Regions from separate parts of the Homo sapiens genome. Here region 1 is linked to region 2. Evidence: promoter capture Hi-C in human tissues and cell types (Jung and others, 2019). All regions are on one chromosome and are shown on one strand. Each heading gives the region's core, a stretch centred on a gene start or on the middle of the fragment in contact. The rest is flanking DNA. Distances are from core to core; before and after follow the strand shown.

What was found. The method cuts DNA at HindIII sites, captures the fragments that hold promoters and counts their contacts. A contact is called where the count stands out against the background at its distance.
Region 1: a fragment that was not itself captured here is called in contact with the fragment with the promoter of ASTL in region 2 in 1 of the 25 tissues and cell types used here (hippocampus).

Annotation. Positions count from the first base shown.
Region 1 is chr2:96,008,005-96,013,077 of GRCh38, forward strand. LOC124900512 (fumarylacetoacetate hydrolase domain-containing protein 2B-like) reads left to right here and starts at 2,740. Exons shown (of 4, transcript XM_047446740.1): 1 at 2,740-5,073. It also overlaps the pseudogene FAHD2CP. RefSeq lists an enhancer at 1,627-2,458 and a silencer at 2,409-2,488. The HindIII fragment of the contact is 3,783 bases long and covers 358-4,140 here.
Region 2 is chr2:96,135,032-96,140,794 of GRCh38, forward strand. It overlaps ASTL (astacin like metalloendopeptidase), which reads right to left and starts at 3,471. Exons shown (of 9, transcript NM_001002036.4): 1 at 3,351-3,471; 2 at 2,544-2,669; 3 at 320-381. The coding sequence starts at 3,405. RefSeq lists enhancers at 1-84, 936-985, 3,326-3,395 and a silencer at 4,286-4,375. The HindIII fragment of the contact is 6,053 bases long and covers 1,553-5,763 here.

The sequences.
Region 1 (5,073 bases), core at 999-3,498, 130 kb before region 2:
AAAGGATTGTTGTGGGGGTTGGGGGGGGACTATTACAATAAGGAGACAGTCTGACGATGTGATCCTCAAGTGTCTCAGAGGTTAGGCAAAGGGCTGACCTTGTATAGGGAGGCGTAAACATGGCTAGAAAGAACTGTTATGGGAAAGTGAGCTGAGCAAGAGTGTCACGATCGAGCAGGTCTTACCCTGCAGACAGCCTGTTCTCAGGAGGGACCCTCAGGAAGGCGGTGGGTTGGCACAAGCTGCGGGTGGGCCAAAGGTCAGGGGCTTGGAGAAGGAGAGAATCTGAACCAAGGTTTGGTTACAGGCATTTTGTTCTTATTGATCTGTGGGGACAAGCAGTCCAGCTAATCATTTATGATGTCAAGAATGGGAATTTAGAGGGTCTGTGTATGGTCTGGTCAGGAGGAGACATTCAGGATTCTTATTCAAGCTATATGGAAAGCCACTGGTTCTTTCCAGTAGGGTGTTTTCTGGAACAAAGGAGTGGAAGGATTCCTTAACCTTCACTATTTCTAGGAGCAAAGGGCTAAGGTACAACTCAATACTGTCAATAGTTAGGATTGAAATGGCTAGGTCATATGGTAGGAGTATGTTTAACTCTTCATACACTGCCAAATGATTTTCAATTGTAGTGATACTATTTTATAATCCCATAAGCAGCGTACAAGAATCCCAGGTCCTCCACATTCTTGTGAATACTTGGTATAATCAGTCTTCTTTGTCCATTCTAGTAGGTGTGAGACGGTGTCACATTGTGCTTGCAATTTGCATATCCTTAATGATTAATGATGTTGAGCATCTTTTCATGTCTTAATTTTCTGTCTGTATATCTTATTTGGTGAAGTGTCTGTTCAAATATTTTGTCCATTTAAAAAATTGAATTGTTTGATTTTATCTATTGATTTTAAGTGCTCTTTCTATATTCTGGATACAAGTCTTTTATCAAATATAGCCTCTGAAGATCTTTTCTTTCAGGCTGTAACTTAGCTTTTCAGAAAGTCTTTGGGAGCTATGGCTTAATGAAACACCTGTGCCAGGTTCTCCTCAGCACATCCCCCTGATCACAGCCACCCCCATAGGCTCTTTTTTTTTTTTTTTTTTTTTTTGAGACGGAGTCTTGCTCTGTCCCCCAGTGGTGTGATCCGGGCTCACTGCAAGCTCCGCCTCCCGGGTTCAGGTCATTCTCCTGCCTCAGCCTCCCGAATAGCTGGGACTACAGGCGCCCGCCAACATGCCCGGCTAATTTTTTGTATTTTTAGTGGAGACGGCGTTTCATAATGTTGGCCAGGATGGTCTCGATCTCCTGACCTCGTGATCCGCCCGCCTTGGCCTCCCAAAGTGCTGGGATTACAGGTGTGAGCCACTGCACCCGGCCATAGGTTCCATTTCTATATCGGTGGTGACCTTCTGTAAGCTAGACTGAAGTCCCAAGCTCCAGACCCACGTCTCCAGCTGCCCACTGTTCAATGCCCTTTGGATGTCCCATGCAAATTGGAGCTCACTGTCATCTCCCCAGACCCGCTGCTCCTCCAGAAGCCCTGTCTCCATGATCAGCCCTGCACCTACCAGGCTAGAGACCCAGGAGTCGGCCTTGTACCTGCTTCCTTCTCACTTCCACCTCCTGTCATCCAGAGCTGTCAGTTCTTCCTCCTGAACATCTATGAACACTCACCTTCTCCGCCAAGCACCGCACCATCATTGTTCTCACCCGCACCACCCACCCAGATACCTTTCCTTAGACAGGTGGCCAGAGAAAAACTTCTCAAATAGAAGTCGGGCCATGGCACGCCACTGAGGACCTTCCAGCGGTCTCCTGTGCACTTAAACAAGGTCCAGACTCCTTCGTGGGACAAGTAAAGCTCTTGATGATCTGGTCCTTGAGTAATGTGGGGGCCTCTTGCCCAGAGCCCCTCATACTCTTCAAAGCCGGCAGCCGAAGAGCTGAGCAGTAGCTGTCTGTGGAGTTCAGCCTCCGCTCCCTGCACGCCTGCCCTCTGCAGGGGATGGAGCACCGTTTCCCCACTTCCCCACCTGCGCCCAGCAGTGCAGGTGAAGGCCTGGCTGCTGGGAGTGGCTGGGAAACGCTGAGCTTTGGGGTCAGGAATGCCAGCTCCACTACTCACCGCCTGTGTCACCCTGGGAAAACAGCTCTGGCCCCAGGTTCTCCATAAGTAAAACAGGGTCACTCATCCCTCCCCTCCTCAACGACATATGTCAGAATCAGAAGCCACAAATCATTCTCTCCCACCCAGCACGCTGCCTTGGTCTCCTAGACCACTTTCCCCAACAATGGGAAAGGCGCCAGGCCCAGAACAGGGCCGAGACCGGATGAGGCCAGCGAAGCGCCCAGGGACAAACTTTCAGGCAGCGCCCACTCTCGGTCTCGGGCAATTGCAGGGTCCCTCCGAGAGCGACCGTCTCCAGAAAACGCGGCCGGCGCCTGCCTATGCCCTGAGCCTGAAGAGCCCCCGGCGCCGCCCGCCCCGCACTGGGCCCGCCCCTCCGGGATTGGTGCCCTGCTAGGGGTGGTTGCCTGTGACGTCACCGGACGCGCCCGCTTCTCGCTGGAGTGCGCACCGAGCGGCAGTGACTTCGCCGCTGCTGTAGTTCCCCGGCTGGATGCGGTGACTGGTGCCAGTGCTCAGGCGCCCGCTGCCCTTGACCTCCCGCCCCGCGAGCCCTAACTCAGCGCAGGAGGACCGGCTGCCGCCGCCGCCGCCGCCAGGTAGACCAGGCCTGGCTGGGTTAGGCCAGAAGGGTGTCCCTGGCGCAGGTCTCCCGCGGAGGGCAGAACTAGAACCAGGTTCCCGGCCGTTTCCGACCACACGGATGGGGCGGACCCATGTGAGCCCTCACTAATTGCAGGGGACGAAGCTGGGCATATGGGGAAACTGGGGGTTTCCAGGCGAGTGGACGGTGGGATGGGATCCGACGTGCACACCCACGTTTCAGGCTACTGTTTCCACCTCACGTCGCCGCCCCTTTGCTTATGGACTCTTGCAGAGTTGGATTGAGCTCGGACTGTGTGACATAGTGGTTGTTGCAGAAGCCCCAGGGCCACTTTCTGACTAGTACCTTGGGCACCTGACGTCATCCCTTTGAGTCTCAGTGTCCTCTTCTGTAAAGTGAGGGCGCTTTACCTGAGGGGATTGCTGTAAGGTTGGAATGAACCTGCATGTGTGAGTCATGTGGGAAGGGAACAGTCAATGGGGCCTGGGGTTCTCTTGGAGAGCTGGTAACCAGCCTCGTCCCTGAGGCAACAGCCAGAGGGCGCCTGTAGTTTCCCCACGCATGGCTGTTAGCAGGGCCTCTGCAGGATCTCCTGTGGGAGGTCCCTACTTCTCACTACAATCTTTAGGGCCTTTGGAGGATTTCCTATGGAAGGTCCCCACTTCTCACCACAACATTCTGGGTTAAAATGTCCTTGGTAGGAAGATGGGGCTGAAGCTAGATTTTCTTGCTTGCATTACAAGCTTCTGAACCAAGGACTTCAATGTCACCTGGACTTGGATTCACATCCCAGCTCCTTCCCTTCCTAGCTTTAAGACTGTGTAACCTTGGGCAAATCCCTTAACCGCTTTAAGCCTTAACTGTTTCATCTGTAAAATGGGACTAACAGTACCTACCTTCCACAAGCGTCAAGAATTAAATCAGGCCTGGCGCGGTGGCTCACGCCTGTAATACCAACAATTTGGGAGGCCGAGGCAGGCGGATCACAAGGTCAGGAGATCGAGACCGTCCTGGCTAACACAGTGAAACACCGTCTCTACTAAAAATACAAAAATTAGCTGGGCGTGGCGGCGTGCACCTGTAGTCTCAGCTGCTGGGGAGGCTGAGGCAGGAGAATGGCGTGAACCCGGGAAGCAGAGCTTGCAGTGAGCCAAGATCGTGCCACTGCATTCCAGCCTGGGCGACAGAGCGAGACTCCATCTCAAAAAAAAAAAAAAAGAATTAAATCGGACATTGTAGGTAGAGCACTTAATAGTTGGCATTCAGCGGCAGCAGTTACTGTTATGTTAGCATGTGGAGTGTCTGAGTGTGTGCACTTTGGCTCGAACAGCCTTTTGACAGTGGCACAGTTGGTGCTTGTGTAAGATAGCAGGGCAGAGAAGTCAAAACCCTCGGTTTTCTAGTCAAACTGGTGGGCCACAACAGTGGTGACCTAAGTCTAATGAGTCTTTCACTGAACAAGGCAGATTGAATCTCCAGGCGAGGACCAAGAGTCTGGGGCTCAGCTGCCTCAACATTTTTGGGCATAGAAGGCTGTACAATACAAACAGCCTTTGTTGTAAGAGCAAGGAACCATTCAGGGAAGGCACCATGTGGTAAGGAATAGTGGCCAGAATTGGATTCAGAACAAAACAAGAGAATAGTGTTTGTCTTTAAGTGGAGCCTTGGACTCAAAATAGGACCTGAGCTCTGTGGATAATTTCTTTTTTTTTTTTTTTTTTGGAGTTGCTCTGTTGCCCAGGCTGGAGTGTCGTGGCATGTTCTTGGCTCACTACAACCTCTGCCTCCTGTGTTCAAGTGATTCTCGTATCTCAGCTTCCCTAGTAGCTGGGATTACAGGCGCCTGCCACCAGTCCTGGCTAATTTTTTTGCATTTTTAGGGGAGACAGGGTTTCGCCATGTTGGCCAGGCTGGTCTTGAACTCCTGACCTCAAGTGATCCACCCACCTCGAACTCCCAATGTGCTAGGGATTTCAGGTGTGAGCCACTGCGCCTGGCCCTTGTGGATACTTTCTAGGTGATTTGAGGAGGAAAGGCACAGCCATGTCTCCTAAAGTTAACAAGCACTAAGCTTTCCCAAGTAGTGAAATGTCAAGCCTCTGCTTCTGTCACTTATTTGTTCATTCAGCAGAAAGTCACTGAGAGCCTTCTGTACACCAGGCACAGTGCTGGGCAGTGAAAGAGACAGACATGTCCCTGGATCCAGGGAGGAGATGACCAAGTGATGGCTGTCAGGCCCAGACCTTGCTGTTTGTCTGCAGCCTCTTCCCTCAGGCAACTTGTTCTCTATCAGGAGAAATGAAATAATTATTATCTGGAGAGGCAGGTGGGGGCGCTGCT
Region 2 (5,763 bases), core at 2,221-4,720:
TTATCTGAGCACCTCCCGAGTGCTGAGCACCTCCCCTGGGCAGGGTACCAAGCTGGGTCAAGTGTTCAAACCTCCTCCTTCAGGAAGCCCTCTCAGGCTGACTGTGCCAGCACTTCAGATACCAGCCTTCCTTAGCATTCAGGCTGGCTTATTCCTATTTCCTAACAGAACAGTCGCTCTGACCTTGACAAAAAGAGGCATCTACCAAGCTATGTATGTCCCTCACACATCAGGCCCCATGGCATCCAGGGTGGGCTCAGAGGACCTGTCGCCAACTGTGGGCTTATCCGCACCCACACACGTCAGTGTGTGCACTCACCGGCCGGATGATGTCCCCCTCGATGAGGAAGCTGCTCTCTGGGGTTTCTTCCAGGATGAGCCCTGGGAAAGGAAGAAGGACGTGTTGGCCCATGTCCCCCAGAACACTGACTCGTGGGACAGGCCAAGCAAATCCCTACTTACTTAAGTCTATTCTTGTGTCTTTCCTAGTGGATTGTTACTTTTATAAGTTCTTAAATAGCCTGATAAAAGTATAGGTCATCGGCTCTCCGAGCCTGGGTGTTTAGTTAAGTCATTAGTTGATGTTTGAGAATGTCAGCCACCCTGTGCGGACTGTCTGCAGGTGTGAGGGGGCTGGAGGACAAAGACAAAGGAGACTGAGGCTTGGGGTCTGTCCCTCTCCTGACTGTGGAGCTAGAGGTTCCCTGAGCACTGAGCCTGCGTGGCCTCAGGGAAGTCACACAGTCCCTGAGTGTGCAAGGCTTCTCGGCTGGACTGCAGCCTTCCCCTGCTCAAACACAGCCCATGACCCACGCAATCCAGTCCCAAGCCCGGGTCCCTGCTGTCAGGAAGCAGTGGCTTCTTCCAGCCTGAGCCACACTCCTCAGAACAGGCCCTGGGGTCTCCTGCCCACCTCATCCCCCATCTATTCCCCACCCATCTGTTATATTCAGGCCCCTTGAGGTGGCAATTTTGTTCCACAAATTTGTTCCACCATCAGAGGCAGGCAAATACCGGCTCTCGCAAGCCCCTCTCCCCTCTTAGTCCCTCTGCTTCTCATCTCTCCCTGAGCCGGGTCTCCCACAAGTGACTCACAGGGGGAGTGAGGGAAGCAGGAGAGAAGGCAGGGAAGAACCCAGGCACAGCCTCAGCCAGATCCCATGGGCGCTCCAGACCACAAATGACACCGCTGACTTGTACCACCTTTAGGCAGGAGCCAGACTCCTGTCCCTTAGAAGTCACAGTAGGCCACCTTGGGCAGACAAGGGAGTAGCCCCCGGGCATCTCTGGCTGAGGCAGCTCCTTCTGGCCAAGGGCCAGTTTTGGGAGGCAGACAGCTGTGCAGCATTAGCCATATTCACAGTGGCTGGAGATGGGCAGGTGCTTCCCAGGAAAGCACTGGGTAAGGCACGGGCAGCCCTTATGAGACAGCCTCACCGTAGGTGATAGGATAGTTGTTGGGGTCACCAGCATTTGGGAGTTTTCTCCATTGGTTCTGGTTACCTGCAGACCACTCACGGTGATCCAGGGGTGGGATGGTGCCTGGGGCTCAAGGCTCAGCTGGCGCTGGGCTCCCAAGTCAGCTCACAGAGGAAGAAGGGGGCAGATCACACAGTGGCTACCACATCTGGTAGGATCTCACCCACCCTTAGGGCAAGGTTGTCCCCTGTTCAGCCCGATTGCTTCAACCCTGAGTGCTTCAGCCCTCATTGCTCCAACATCTGAACTCCAGTCTCCATTTCAACTGGCTTTGTTCAGGCTATTTATACACCCTCATTCCTCAGCTGACATCCCCAGACAGCAAGGCCCTGAGCCTGACTTTTGTTTTTTGTTTTTTGTGAGATGCTCTGTCGCCCAGGCTGGAGTGCAGTGGCGCAATCTCAGCTCACTGCAAGCTCCGCCTCCCAGGTTCATGCCATTCTCCTGCCTCAGCCTCCTGAGTAGCTGGGACTACAGGCGCCCGCCACCACGCCCGGCTAATTTTTGTATTTTTGGTGGGGACGGGGTTTCACTGTGTTAGCCAGGATGGTCTCGATCTCCTGACCTCATGATCTGCCCGCCTCAGCCTCCCAAAGTGCTGGGACTACAGGCGAGAGCCACCGCACCCAGCTGAGCTTCAGACTTCTTAATCACACCTGCAGACAGTCCTGCACAGGGTGGCTGACAATCTCAGACTGCGACTAACCGCTTAGCTCCACGCCCAGGCCCTTTAAGAGCTTGGTTTTTCTTATAAAAGTAACAATCCACTAAGAAAGATACAAAAAGAAAGAGTAGACTTAAGCAATTGCCCATAGAATTTCCACCCATTCACACCTGTAGTCCCAGCTGCTCGGGAGGCAGAGGCAGGAAGATCACTTAAGGCCAGGAGTTCAAGACCAGCCGGGGCAATATAGCAACACCACTCCATCTCTTAAAAACCACTTAGAGCCCAGAGTAAGCTGGTCCATTTCCTCCCAGGCTCTGCATTTCTGAGTGTTCGGTGTGGTTTTCACACTACATAACGTCGTGCCCCTCCAGGCCGTGAGAAGATGTAGTGCCCTCACCTTGGTTAATTGCAGGAATGTCCTTGTCCCCGGAGGCCTGGGTTCCCTCAGGGGTGAGGCCATCTGGGAAGCTGGTACCACAGGCTCCTGCGCAGCTGGAGGCCAGGGGCGCTCCTAGGATCACACCTGGTCCAGACAGACAGGGGCATACACAGATGCCTGGAGCACCCACCGGTGAGACCAGACAGCAGGACATGGGGTGGGTGTGGGGGATCAGACGGTAAGACTCAGTCCCTAGGAAGAGTAGGCTCCAGCACAAAGCCAAGGAGCCTTCCCAGCCTCCCTGCTCAACCCCAACTGGTGCCAAGGTCTAGATGACCTCAGGGAAGGAGCTCCCTTAGGGGGACCAAAAGGGACCATGTGCCCCACCTATGAGGTAGAGGAGGGGCAGGAAGGAAGGAGGCAGGACAGACCTCGGGTTCTGACGCCCGTGACGGGCAGGGCCAGCCTCAGACCCCACCTTATGACTCTCTCTCAGCCCAGGCTCTTGGACAATGGGCTCAGCCTGGATGACTCCCTGCCTGACCAGGCTGGAGTGGGGACTTACAGCCTACCCCCACCCCAAGACAAGTAGGCCTGGGGCACAACACTTATCTTCTGCCAGGCAGGCCCTCTGCTTCCAGGGCCTTCAGGAGGCCTCCCCTTGGCCCCCCAGGAGCTGACTTCTAGAATAACCCTGGAGAGCTCTGTGCTCTGAGCTACTGAGCTCAGCTACAATCCCTGCAGGCTCCAGCCACAACCTTCTAGCCTCTCCCCAGCTTTCTCCAGGCTGGAGCCAGCAGCAGGAGGGACAGGCAGCCAGCTTACCTGGCAAGGAGAGCAGACCCAGCACCCAAGGCCAGAGACCCCCTACACCCTCCATGGTAGAGCCCTGCTGCCCCTTCAGCAAACAAGACCAAGCCCCAGCAAGACACAGTAACCTAATTGCAGAACCGGCACCACCACCCCCTCTTAAATAGCAGCTGCTCCACCTCCCACCTTGCTCCCCTCAACCGCCTCCACCTGCAGCCCCGCCCCAACCACCTCCACCTGCAGCCCCGCCCCAACCATCTCCACCTGCAGCCCCGCCCCAACCACCTCCACCTGCAGCCCCGCCCCAACCAGCTCCACCTGCAGCCCCGCCCCAACCAGCTCTACCGGCAGCGCCACCCAAACCAGGTCTACTGGCAGCCCCTCCGATGCCTACCTGTGGTTCCCACCCCAGCCCAGTCCCCTTCCTGGCTGTAGCAGGTGAAAGACAGGAGGGGCCCGCTTGGGAGTGTGGCTCTTCTGAGGTTCCTTCCTGCCTCCAGGGGGCAGAGAAACATCGCAGAAAGTTGCTCCAGGCCTAGCTGAGGCCCCAGCCCAGGTATAGACCTATTCCTCCAGCGAGGGAGACCCCCTTTCCTACCCCGGCCTGTGCTTAGACATGGGGAAAGCTGCCTGAGACCCTGGGGCGCCCCCCGTGTATCTCCGGAAGGAGGAAAAGGTCACTGCACTTTCACAAGCTTTTATTTTAGTACACATATAGAAAAGTTCACTATCACAAGCACAGGGCTCCAGGAAATTTCACAAACTGAACAGTGTGCAGCACCCTAGAAAGCCTGCCATGTGGGAAAGGTGGAACCCCCAGATGCCCAGAGCCTCGCAGGGAGTCCACCCCCTAATCCCACAGCAGCTGGCATGATCAGTCAGTATTTATTCCCATTTCACAGATTTGGAAATTTAAACTCCTTACCTATATCCCCCCTCCTCCATACCCCTGAGCCCCAGAGCCAGGTCACTCAGGGCCCCACCTGGATTGAAATCCCAGAGGCGGAGCATGTCAGCGCTGGGCAGCATTTGGGGACACCCCCACAGTCACCTGCACCCAGTGAAGGGAAGCGACAGAGCCAAGAAGAATAGCTATTGTCCACAAGGACCTTTCAGCATTCCCACTGTGCCTGGAATCCAGAGCTTCTCCAAAGATAGGAATCAGAATCACAGGGAGACCATGATGGAGGCAGACGCCCTGCTGCCAGGGCAGGGTATTGACAGATGTCAGGATACACACCATGGATATGCTAGTTAGCTTGTTGTGGTCATCATTTCACAAGGTATGCATATGTCAAAACATCACGTTGTATACTTAAACATATACTACTTTTATTTGTCGATTATGCCTCAGTAAACCTAGAAAAAATAAGTAAAATAAAGAATAGGACCCATCAAAAAACAAATGCACAAGGCTGACCACTTAAGATGAGTGTTCAGGAGGGCGCGGTGGCTCACGCCTATAATCCCAGCACTTTGGGAGGCCAAGGCAGGTGGATCACGAGGTCAGGAATTCAAGACCAGACTGGCCACCATGGTGAAACCCCATCTCTACTAAAAGAATACAAAAATTAGCTGGGCACGGTGGCGGGCACCTGTAATCCCACCTACTCGGGAGGCTGAGGCAGGTGAATCACTTGAACCCAGAGGTGGAGTTTGCAATGAGCCAAAATCGCGCCACTGCACTCTAGCCCGGGGGACAGAGTGAGACTCCATCTCAAAAAAAAAGATGAATGTTCAGTAAAAAAAAATAAAGTAGACCGGGCGCAGTGGCTCATGCCTGTAATCCCAGCATTTTGGGAGGCCAAGGCAGGCAGATTACTTGAGGTCAGGAGTTCGAGACCAGCCTAGCCAACACGGTGAAACCCCATCTCTACTAAAAATACAAAAATTAGCCAGAAATCCCTTGAACTCAGGAGGCAGAGGTTGCAGTGAGCCAAGATTGTGCCACTGCACTCCAGCCTGGGCAACAGAGTGAGACTCTGTCTCAAAAAACAAAAGAATTAAAATAATGATAAGAAATAATCACCCTGCTTGGGGAGAGAAACAGAGTCTTTATTAGGACATGCAGTTGGTCTGAGGATATTTTGCTGAGCGAAACAAGCCAGTCACAAAAAGACAAATCCTGCATGCTTCTACCTCCAAGAGGTGTCTAGAGTAGCCCAGTGCACAGGGACGGAAAGTGGAACGGAGCTCACAAGGGGCTGGGGACTGGGGAGGGGAGTTATCATTTAATAGGTATAGGATTTCAGGTTCGCAAGATGAAAAAGCTCTGGATATCTGTGCACAACGATGTGAATACACTTTACTAAACACTTGATAATGGTAAAGATGACCAATTTTATGTTGCATTTTTTACCACAATTAAAAGTTTAAAAATTTAATAAATAGGAAAGAAGGAAAGGAGGAAAAGAGAGAGAAAGAGAAG